2 separate regions of the Homo sapiens genome follow, and region 1 is linked to region 2. Evidence: promoter capture Hi-C in human tissues and cell types (Jung and others, 2019). All regions are on one chromosome and are shown on one strand. The core of a region is centred on a gene start or on the middle of the fragment in contact, and the rest is flanking DNA. Distances in the headings are between cores, read along the strand shown. Region 1 has its middle 140 kb from the start of C1orf21-DT. Region 2 holds the start of COLGALT2 (collagen beta(1-O)galactosyltransferase 2).

The links. The method cuts DNA at HindIII sites, captures the fragments that hold promoters and counts their contacts. A contact is called where the count stands out against the background at its distance.
Region 1: a contact is called between a fragment that was not itself captured here and the fragment with the promoter of COLGALT2 in region 2, in 2 of the 25 tissues and cell types used here (heart right ventricle and mesenchymal stem cells).

Annotation. Positions count from the first base shown.
Region 1 is chr1:184,239,544-184,244,886 of GRCh38, reverse strand. No RefSeq gene overlaps it. Among named protein-coding and RNA genes, the nearest start is that of C1orf21-DT, 140 kb to the left of the region's middle. The HindIII fragment of the contact is 4,140 bases long and covers 1-3,731 here.
Region 2 is chr1:184,035,788-184,040,371 of GRCh38, reverse strand. COLGALT2 (collagen beta(1-O)galactosyltransferase 2) reads left to right here and starts at 2,644. Exons shown (of 12, transcript NM_015101.4): 1 at 2,644-3,277. The coding sequence starts at 3,015. RefSeq lists a silencer at 2,832-2,921. The HindIII fragment of the contact is 4,544 bases long and covers 305-4,584 here.

The sequences.
Region 1 (5,343 bases), core at 412-2,911, 210 kb before region 2:
ATTGATTTAGCGATGGCTATGTGGCCTTTTCTGAAATGGTTGACAAGAAAAATATCTCTCCTGGATGGTTTGCTTTGTGGATGTAAAGCTTGAAGCAGTTCAGCCACATTGACACGATGGGGATGACAGCCTTAGGATGAAAGGCAGAAAAATCTGCTCATTGCGGACAACATTGAGCCACTGGATCAACCTTCTCTGAAGTTCAAACAACTCCTGAACTTATCAAATCTGACCTCATCATTAAGTAGCTAGAAACTGATAACAATGTTGTTGTAGCCCAGAAGGTATTACTAGCATAGTTAACAATGCAAATTTTACTCCCTTATTAGAAAATAAGCTCTGACCACATTATTTGGCACATAGGAAATGCTCAATTAAAATATCATATGCCTATAATCCCAGCACTTTGGGAGGCTGAGGTGGATGGATCACCTAAGGTCAGGAGTTCAAGACCAGCCTGGCCAACATGGGGAAAACCTGTCTCTACTAAAAATACAAAAATTAGCCAGGCTTGGTGGCATGCGCCTATAATCCCAGCTACTCTGGAGGCAGAAGCAGGAGAATTGCTTGAACACAGGAGGCAGAGGTTGCAGTGAGCCAAGACAGCGCCACTGCACTCCAGCCTGGGTGACAGAGCAAGACTCTATCTCAAATAATAATAATAATAAAAGTTTAAAAATGGAGGGAAAAGGCCAGGTGCAGTGGCTCTCGCCTGTAATCCCAGCAGTTTGGGAGGCCAAGGCGGGTGGATCACGAGGTCAGGAGATCAAGACCATCCTGGCTAACATGGTGAAACCCCGTCTCTACTAAAAATACAAAAAATTAGCCAGGTATAGTGGTGGGTGCCTGTAATCCCAGCTACTCAGGAGGCTGAGGCAGGAGAATGGCGTGAATGTGGGAGGCAGAGCTTGCAGTGAGCCGAGATCTTGCCACTGCACTCCAACCTGGGTGACAGAGTGAGACTCCGTCTCAAAAAAAAAAAAAAAAGGAAGAAAAAATCTCATTCCACTCAAGACATATTATTGCTAAAAAGAACCAAAGCTAGAAGCAAAGGTAAAATATCACGTTTGTATTAGCAGAGTGGTGATGCCGGGGAGGGAGGGCAGGGGGTGGCAATTACTGCCTTGAGAGTTAAGGAGGAGTTGAAAGAAAAACTTATTTGGAGTATGTTTTCTCCCAATCACTCTTTGTGGCCAGAGATAAAAAACCTGAGAAGATAGGAACAGTTATCAGTAAACGGGTTTTCTCACATTTTCTCATCTACTCTTTCAAATTCTATTTCTGACAGCCAGAGGCACACAAGAGGGGCAAGCTAGTATACTTCTCTTCCTACTTTTTTTTTTTAGGACAGAGGAAACTACCTAATAGAGAAAAGAAATTAGATAGGGTCATATTAGAGCTCACGTCTGATACTGACTCATCTAAGAAACCATCGTGGCCCCAAAAAGCCTCCTACTATTGGTAACTGCCTTCCCTTTTGCAAAATGGGGTCAATAAACTAATATAGTCTTGCTGAGATGTTTGTAAAATCTGAAAATATAAATTATTTGAGAAATATTCAGGTACTGGTTGGAGAAAGAAAAAATTATACCCTAGAAGGAATAAAAACTGCGGTTTCCTTGGTCTCATTTCTAGGACTTGTGTGCAAGGCTAATGTATAAGTTGTCAGTGACACCCAGGAGCCCATTGCTAATGATCCTAAACAAATTTTAGAAATCAAACAAGGCATCATTCTGGCTAATAAAGGAGGTCATAAAATGAATACACCAATTTTCAAGCTACCATTGTGTGTCAGGAAGATTTTTCTTTATGGGGTGAGCACATTAACTTTTATGGTGGTTGATTTCCTTCTGAGAGTAGTAGTGTATCCCATTTAGCAAGACTTTGTGTAGCCTCAAGATGTGTGTGTTGTGTTACTGGAAGATAGAGAGTTAATAAATATGATACAAATTAGAAAGAGTGGCTCATCTGTGGGGAGAAATAAATGAGATGAACAGGGTGATTAAGAAAGGAAGTAGCTTATTCAGTGACTCTGTACTATGGTAAGATCCTCTAGAGCTAGAAGGAGGCCTGGATGTAAGCAGCCGGAAGGCCAGAGATTAGCCACAAAGTAAATACAAGGAAGAATAAATGAAATGAATGAGGTGATTAAGAAAGAAAGTAGCTTATTCAGTGACTCTGTACTGTGTAAGATCCTCTAGAGCTAGAAGGAAGCCTGGTTGTAAACAGCAGGAAGGCCAGAGATTAGCCACAAAGTAAGTATCTGGTGACCTCTAGGGCTTAGCCGGGGAGAACAAGGGTCAAGCTTATCATGGAAGTAATTAATCAAAGGCCAGTTACTATATGCACAAAGTGTGTAAAGAGGCAAATGAGAGGATCTCTGCACTCCAGAGACTTATAATCTATTAGGGAGACAGATATGCACATAGAAAGATGATATTTCATACTCAATATTGGCAATTAAAGGCTAATGGAGTTATAGTCCTGATGTTGCAGGAGCTCAGAGGATTGCTCTGGGCTTGGGTATCTGGGGAAGGAGAAAGGCTATGGTTTTGAGCTAGACTTTACAGAGATAGTGCTAAAAGGTTGGGTGGGTGAGAATGTGTGCAAAAGGAAGTCAGAGAGATAGAGGGAAAAGACAGGAGAGATGGTGCCCTGTGGATTCTGGGACATCTATGGACTCCCTGCATATTCACAAATTGTTCCTTCATTTCTTCCTTTTAAACAACTATATTTTATGTAAGGGAAGATAAGTTCAATGAACAAAAAGAAGACAAAATGTTAAGGAGGCCTTCTAAAAATACTTAACAAGAACAATTCTATTGTGTTGGCTTTCTATGACTTCTATAATTATACTTGCTACCTCAATGCAAGAGATAGGAAAGAAAGAAAAAGTAGCTCTGACTATGACAGTAGCCCTTAGTTGACTAAAATGTGGCAGCAGTCATTCCTGAGAACTTAAGAATAGCAGTAACATCATTATCTGAGATTTGAATTCACTTCAGGCACAATAGAAAATATATTTTTTTAATTTTCTGGACATCTTAGGAGGATATTTTAGATCAGAAATCATGTTGAGGAATTAGACATTAAGCCCCAGGACAAAGCCATTCACATGTCAATCTTTGTTGTCATCTGTCCTATTGCCAACACAGGCCTCAACATTATCAAGCGGACAGAGGGAAAGAATGATAATGTGGAAATGATGACTATATTTTCTGGAAGTGTTAAAGATTGCAGAGATCTTTCCTGGAATTGCTGAATGGTTTCTATCTCCTTAATGAGCAACACCTTTTTAGGAAGGCAGTAGTTGATGTCATCTGGACTGTCGAGTCCTATTAAAGATGAGATCAGTATCAACTCAACTCCTTTTAAGGTAAAATCTTCTCAGCCCTTGGAAAGTTCAAGCCCAGTGTACAAAGCTTAAGTCATGATCTTATCCTTTTTATTTCTTCCTTCACCTACAGACCAGCCTCTGCCAACCTTCCTTCTTGGAGAATGGCATCACCATCCATCCCACGACCTAAGCCCCAAACCCAGACTCCTGTCTCTGCTGCCCACCCTGATCCCTGCTTGTCTCATGTCTACTCCCTTAGCATTTCCGCAGTCTGCCTCTTCCATCCATCTCCACTGCTGCTGCCCCTGGTCAAACCCTAACCATTGCTCAACTGGAATAGCATAACAGTCTCCCAACTGGCCTCCCTTGCTCTCCTGCAATGATTCTCCATCACAAACCAGGAGTTATCCCTCAAAAACACAATTCTGTTCATGGTACCCCGCTAACAAATCTTTCACTGCTTCTAGGATAGGGTTCCCACCATTCAGCTGGCATGGAAGAGTATTCACGATCTGGCCCTAGCCTACCTCACGAACCTTACCTCTTTCCACATCATCCATTTTCTATGCCCCACAGTCCAATCGGGCCAAATTATTTTCATGATCTCTGGACACATCCCACTTCTTCCTTCTTCATATCTTTGTTCAGGCTGCTCTTTCTGTCTGGAATGTTCTTGGTGACTGTGTCTACCTGACCAACAAAGCTTGTCTTTGAAGACTCAGCTCAAGAGTTTTCTATGAAGTCTTTCCAAGCTGCTACTGTAAGTAAGAAGAATCTTTTATTTTATTTTTTTTAAGAGACGGCATCTAATTTTGTTGCCCAAGCTGGAGTGCAGTGGTGTGAGCATAGTTCACTGCAGCCTCAAACTCTTAGGCTCAACTGATCCTCCCACCTCAGCCTCCCAAGTAGCTACAGGCACGTGCCACCAAGCCTGGCTAGTTTTATTTATTTATTTATTTTTATAGATACAGGGTCTCAATATGTTGCCCAGGTTGGTCTCAAACTCCTAGTTTCAGGTGATTCTCCCACCTTGGCCTCCCAATGTGCTGGGATTACAGGCATGAGCCACCGCACCCAACCAGAAGAATCATTTCTCATTTAGTGCTGCCCTCACATCTGTACAATCTTCTGGTATGATATATACGTATTGTGCTTTCTGGTTTACATGTCTGTCATTCCTTTTATGCTGAAGATGAGAGAAGATGCCACATTCATTCTTGTGTTGTATTTATATTTGTATTGCCAGTTGGTTCCATGTTAGGCTCTGCCAAAGGAAGTGCTAGAATGAGGCTGCAAGACTGGAGGAGAAAGAAGAGACATGCTTCTTTTTGGCTTCTGGTCTACCTCCCGTTCCTGTGAGCATCACTCTAGCAATGCTTCTTTGCCTTCCTGCATCAGCAGCTGAGTCAGGTCTGCAATGTCTCCAGCCCTTGCAGAACCAGCATCATTGTGCCCCCCAGACAGACACCAGCATGGGCCAGCACCCTCTCCTTAGAGCTGCTTCCTGCTGGTGCTACCTCCATGAAATGGCAGAGTTTTCTTATTATATTTTTAGTTACTTAGTTAACTATATCTAGCTAACTATTCTTTATATTATATTTACTCTGTTAAAATAATATTTTTGTGGTTTCCATCTTTTGCCTGAACCCTGACTGATACATTTGTTGAACCAAAGGGGAAATTCTTTAGCATGGGGATGTAAAATTCAGGTTTCTATGAAAACACAAATGGATTTTTAAAAATTCAACAAACACAGAGCCATCGCATAAAAACTTACTGATTTTTGTAATATTCACTGAATTTCACTGAATTTGTAATGTCTTAGGAGAGGTAATGTTATTCAGGATAACTTTATCCTCTAGATCTAAAATTTGAAATCTTTGCTTTAGAGAACCCCTGGCTAATTTATGTCAGTTACTTTCTGCAGGGCCTAGGCCAACTCTGTGTGACTAGTCCCACCCTGGATCAACCAAATCTTACGTCTCAGTCCAGTTCTTTTGTGACTG
Region 2 (4,584 bases), core at 1,395-3,894:
ATGGAGCCGATTTCATTATAATGTCATTAGAGACCATACAGGTTTAGATGCTTCACCTTTCTTTGAAAAAATAGACTCAGATAAGCTGTTGACTTTAGGTAACTGTATTAGTCTGTCCTCACGCTGTGAATAAAGACATAGCTGAGATTGGGTAATTTATAAAGAAAAAGAAGTTTAGTGGACTCACAGTTCCACATAGCTGGGGAGGCCTCACAATCATGGCAGAAGGCAAAGGAGGAGCAAAGACACACCTTACATGGCGGCAGGCAAGGGAGCATGTGCAGGGGAACTGCCCTTTATAAAACCATCAGATCTTGTGAGGCTTATTCACTATCACGAGACTAGCATGGGAAAAACCTGCCCCCATGATTCAATTACGTCCCACGACACGTGGGGATTATGGGAGCTATAATTCGATGTGAGATTTGGGTGAGGACATAGGCAGACCATATCAGTAACAGAAGGAAAATAAGACAGAAATGTGGTTGCCTAGCTTTAAACTCCCTCTGTTTGCAGTAAAGTGAACAAATGATAACTATCAAACCAAGTTTGGCTAAGGAGTGCGGATTTTAGTATTGAAAGATGAGTGGGACATAGTTCAAGAAAGGGAAACAAGAAAGACAGAACAACATGGAGATTGTCTGGACCTTTCTAACAGTCCCATCACTACCTCCCTTGTGGAAATGACCACATCTTCCTCTATCCCTTCACTGTAGCTGGTACATCTGTTACAGTACTTCTAACAGATGTTTAACTCTCAGTCTTCCCTACAAGACTGTGAGCCCCTTGAAAGTGGGAACAATTCCTGAAAATGGATGGAGGGGAAGGAAATGTCTGTAGGCCATTCGATAAAAAAATATGAAGATTAGAGAAGAGATTAGAGCAGAAGACATAGATTTTGAGGATATAACCACAGGAGACCATATGGAGTGGGAAGACTAGCACACTATAGGGAGGCACACAGTGAAGGGGCTTGGCTCAGAGACAAGTAGTATCAGAGGAGATCTAGGATGGGAGATTATGTAATCGAAGTCCAGGAAGGTGAGAACGGAAGAGTTTACTGAATCTGCCAATGCTGAGGCCATCTGTTGGTTTTGCAGAACAGTGGGGAGGGCTGACGCCTTACTGCACTGTGGTGGGAAAGATGGGAGATGAAGAAGTGGAGAATACAAGTATAGATCTCTCTTCCAAGGAGCTTGGTCAAGCAAAGGGATGACTAGAAGAAGACACAGGACTTTTTTTTAAAGCTTTTCTTTCTTTTTTTTTTAACGGATAAGAGAAGACTGACCAAGTATTTAGCTTGAGAGAAAGGAGTTGATAGAGATCAGTTGAAGATTCAGTAGAGAGTGGAATGATAGAGAAAAATCATGGGCTAGAAAGGGAGACCTCTCCCTTTCTAGTCTGTGATCAAAGACCCTGTCGTGAGGAGGCACCTGCAAGTAAGAAAGGTCTTGGTAGGGATGCTAGTTGGAGACAGTGGTGTTGGGGGAGCTGGATGAAGGAGGTGATATACTTCAAAAGACAGTAGGGAAGACTTCTAATAGTTGCTGAGAAGGATTGATAACAACTAATAAAAAGACTATGGGACAGACCTGAGGGTGAGTTGGGATTGGAGATCATGAATGTGCACTGGCACCAAAACACCCTCCATACTTATCTATCAAAGGCTACACAATATATCTTCAAAACTAAATATCCAGCCGAGCATGGTGGCTGATGCCTGTAATCGTAACACTTTGGGAGGCCGAGTTGGGCAGATCACTTGAGCCCAGGAGTTCCAGACCAGCCTGGGCAAAATGGTGAAAACCCGTCTCTACAAAAAAAAAAAAAAAAAAAAAAATTAGCTAGGCGTGGTGATGGACACCTGTGGTCCCAGCTACTCGGGAGGCTGAGGTGGGAGGATTGCTTGAGCCCAGGAGGTCGAGGCTGCAGTGAATTGTGATCGTGCCTCTGCACTCCAGCCCCGGCAACAGAGTGAGGCCCTGTCTCAAAAAAAAAAAAAAAAAAAAAGTAAATCTCCTTTAGCAGTGTATGCCAGCAGTTTCATTTTATGTGCTAATTGTGTTCTTCCTTCACCCCTTCTTTTCTTCCTTATCTCTTCTCTGCTCTCCAACATGCGCGAATTTTCCCTCTTTGTTACTCTATCATATTGGCTTATTACGGAAAAAGAAAACCAGCTAAGTGAATTTATTCTTTCACAGCCCTCCTGTGAGGAGGCTTACTGGGTTCACAGTAGAGTGAGGCTTCAGGACAGTGTCTCCCAAGGGCTTTCTTTTATTTTGCGGGGTCTGATCTGGCTCCAAAATTCTCCAAGTCTTCAAACTTTGTGTTATTAGGTGTCTACTCAGTCAAGAATGAATTTCAGAAGTTGAGTATATAAGAAAATGCGACATGCTGCCTTTGCGGTGGTTAAACAAGTGTTTGTCATAATCGTGAATAGTTGGGGAGACTTTTCATTTTAGAACTCTACTCAGTCAATAGGTGCATTATGAAAACTGGATACATTGCATCACTGTGAAGGGCTTCAGTCTGCGGTTTGCAAAAGCAGAATAAATTTTCTTGGGGTTGTACCGTTATGTACACACACACACACACACACACACACACACACACACACTCACAGGCTCATTGGCAGACAGGGCCACAACTCGCGGCTCTAGGGAAGGCCACAGACCTCAGCTGTACGAGCGGAACCTGGACTAGAGGAACTTTCCTCAGGACTCAGGGCACACAGCCCCTCGGCCACTACTGTCTGCGAGCCCGAGGCGCAGGGGAGCGCCAGCGGCTGCAGGTACGCTGCGCACCCGCACTGGGGCCTGGGCGGTGCAGCGGCGGCGGGAGGGTCCTGGGAACCGCAGCCGCCGAGGCCAGTGTGTGAGCCGGCCGGCCGCGGCAAGCCGCATCCCCCGGCCGCCCCTCGCAGCCCCTTGCTCCCCGGCAGCCGCCGCCGCCCTCAGGCAGCCCAGCCGGGCGCTCGCGCCAGGACTTCCCCGCCGCCCGCCTCGGCCCGGAACATGGCTGCGCGCCCTGCTGCCACCCTCGCCTGGTCGCTACTGCTCCTCTCCTCAGCCCTGCTCCGCGAAGGCTGCCGAGCGCGCTTCGTCGCCGAGCGGGACTCGGAGGACGACGGAGAGGAGCCGGTGGTTTTCCCGGAGTCGCCCCTGCAGAGCCCCACGGTGCTCGTGGCGGTCCTCGCCCGCAACGCGGCGCACACGCTGCCGCACTTCCTCGGCTGCCTGGAGCGGCTGGACTACCCCAAGAGCAGGATGGCCATCTGGTGAGCGCGCACGGGCCCCGGGCCGCCGCGGCGGGACGCGGGGGCGGCCTGCCCAGCGCGGACAGCGCCCGGAGCAGCAGCTGCAGGGCGAGGGAGCCGCTGGAGGGGCGGGGGGGCACGCGGAAAATCTGGCGCACACACCCCCTCGCTGCCCGCGCCGGTGGCTGGCGGATCGGGCGGTCAGGCTGCGGAGGGACGCGCGGGTCAGTGTGCGCAGAGGGTGCTGATGGGGAGAACCGGACCGCTGGAGCTCTGGAGGGTAGCCTGCGAATTGGGGCTTTGTCCCACAAGGGGCATGGGGGACACCCCTCAAGGGGACTTTCAGTTCCCTCGCTTTTAACTCTCGAGGTTTCCTCTTTCCCCACCTCATACTGCTAGCCCTGACGTGAGGGGATAGGGTGCCTGTCGCCGTATTCCCATGTAGATACGACAGATGGAACGTAACTGCGGTTGGCCAGGGGCTCCGCAGTGGCTGGGGCGCCGCAGTGCGCTGCTCTGACTTTCCGGTGCCGGGCTCCTGCTCCAGGCTGGAAATGTGCTCCTAGCTCTCCTAGGGGGACCTGGACCTAGGGGTGGAGATTGGGCGGAGCCCGCGGAGTGTGCCCAACCATGGCACCACCGTGGGCCTGGTCTCCTGCGAGCGCTCCGGGCTGTCCCTGCCGGTGCATCGGGGTTCCACGTCCCGGGGAGAGACGAAGATGCCCTGGGAAAGATAAACAGCCAAGTTTTGTCCCCGGAGGAAAGAAGCTTGGACCTGGTCCCTGTGTCTGCTGCGGGGAGGGCCAGGGGATAAGTGCGGGTGCCTGCCCGCCCCACCTTGTAGAACTTGGTCGTCTCGCACCTTTTATAAACGCGAGGATCCGAGGGCGAGAAGTTAGTTGGTGGCCAGGTTAGCCGCTGAGTGGGTTGTGGAGGACAAGGAGGTGGATGCTGGCCAGGGGAGATGTGCTGTCAGGTAGGTACTCGGACAAGAAGACTCTGGCCCCCTGAGGAAGACAGAGCCCAGGTCACTCTGGAGCAATTTCTGTCTTGTGTTGATAAAGGGAGCTGTTCTCAGGCGAGACACATCCTTAAAGCAGCGGTTGGGCAAAGAGAGGAAGAGGAGTAAAAGCAGCAGCTAGAATTGGCAGCCTCAGAGTACCTGGTGGGAGAGGTGCAAAGGTGCGAAAGCAAACATGTGATATAGTACAGCTCTGTGCTGTACACTGCTTTACTATATACCCTGCCATACGTGACCGCCTGGCGGAGAAGGGCATATTATGTGGAAAGAGAGCACTGGGACAGCCAGGCTTTAAACCAGAAGGAAG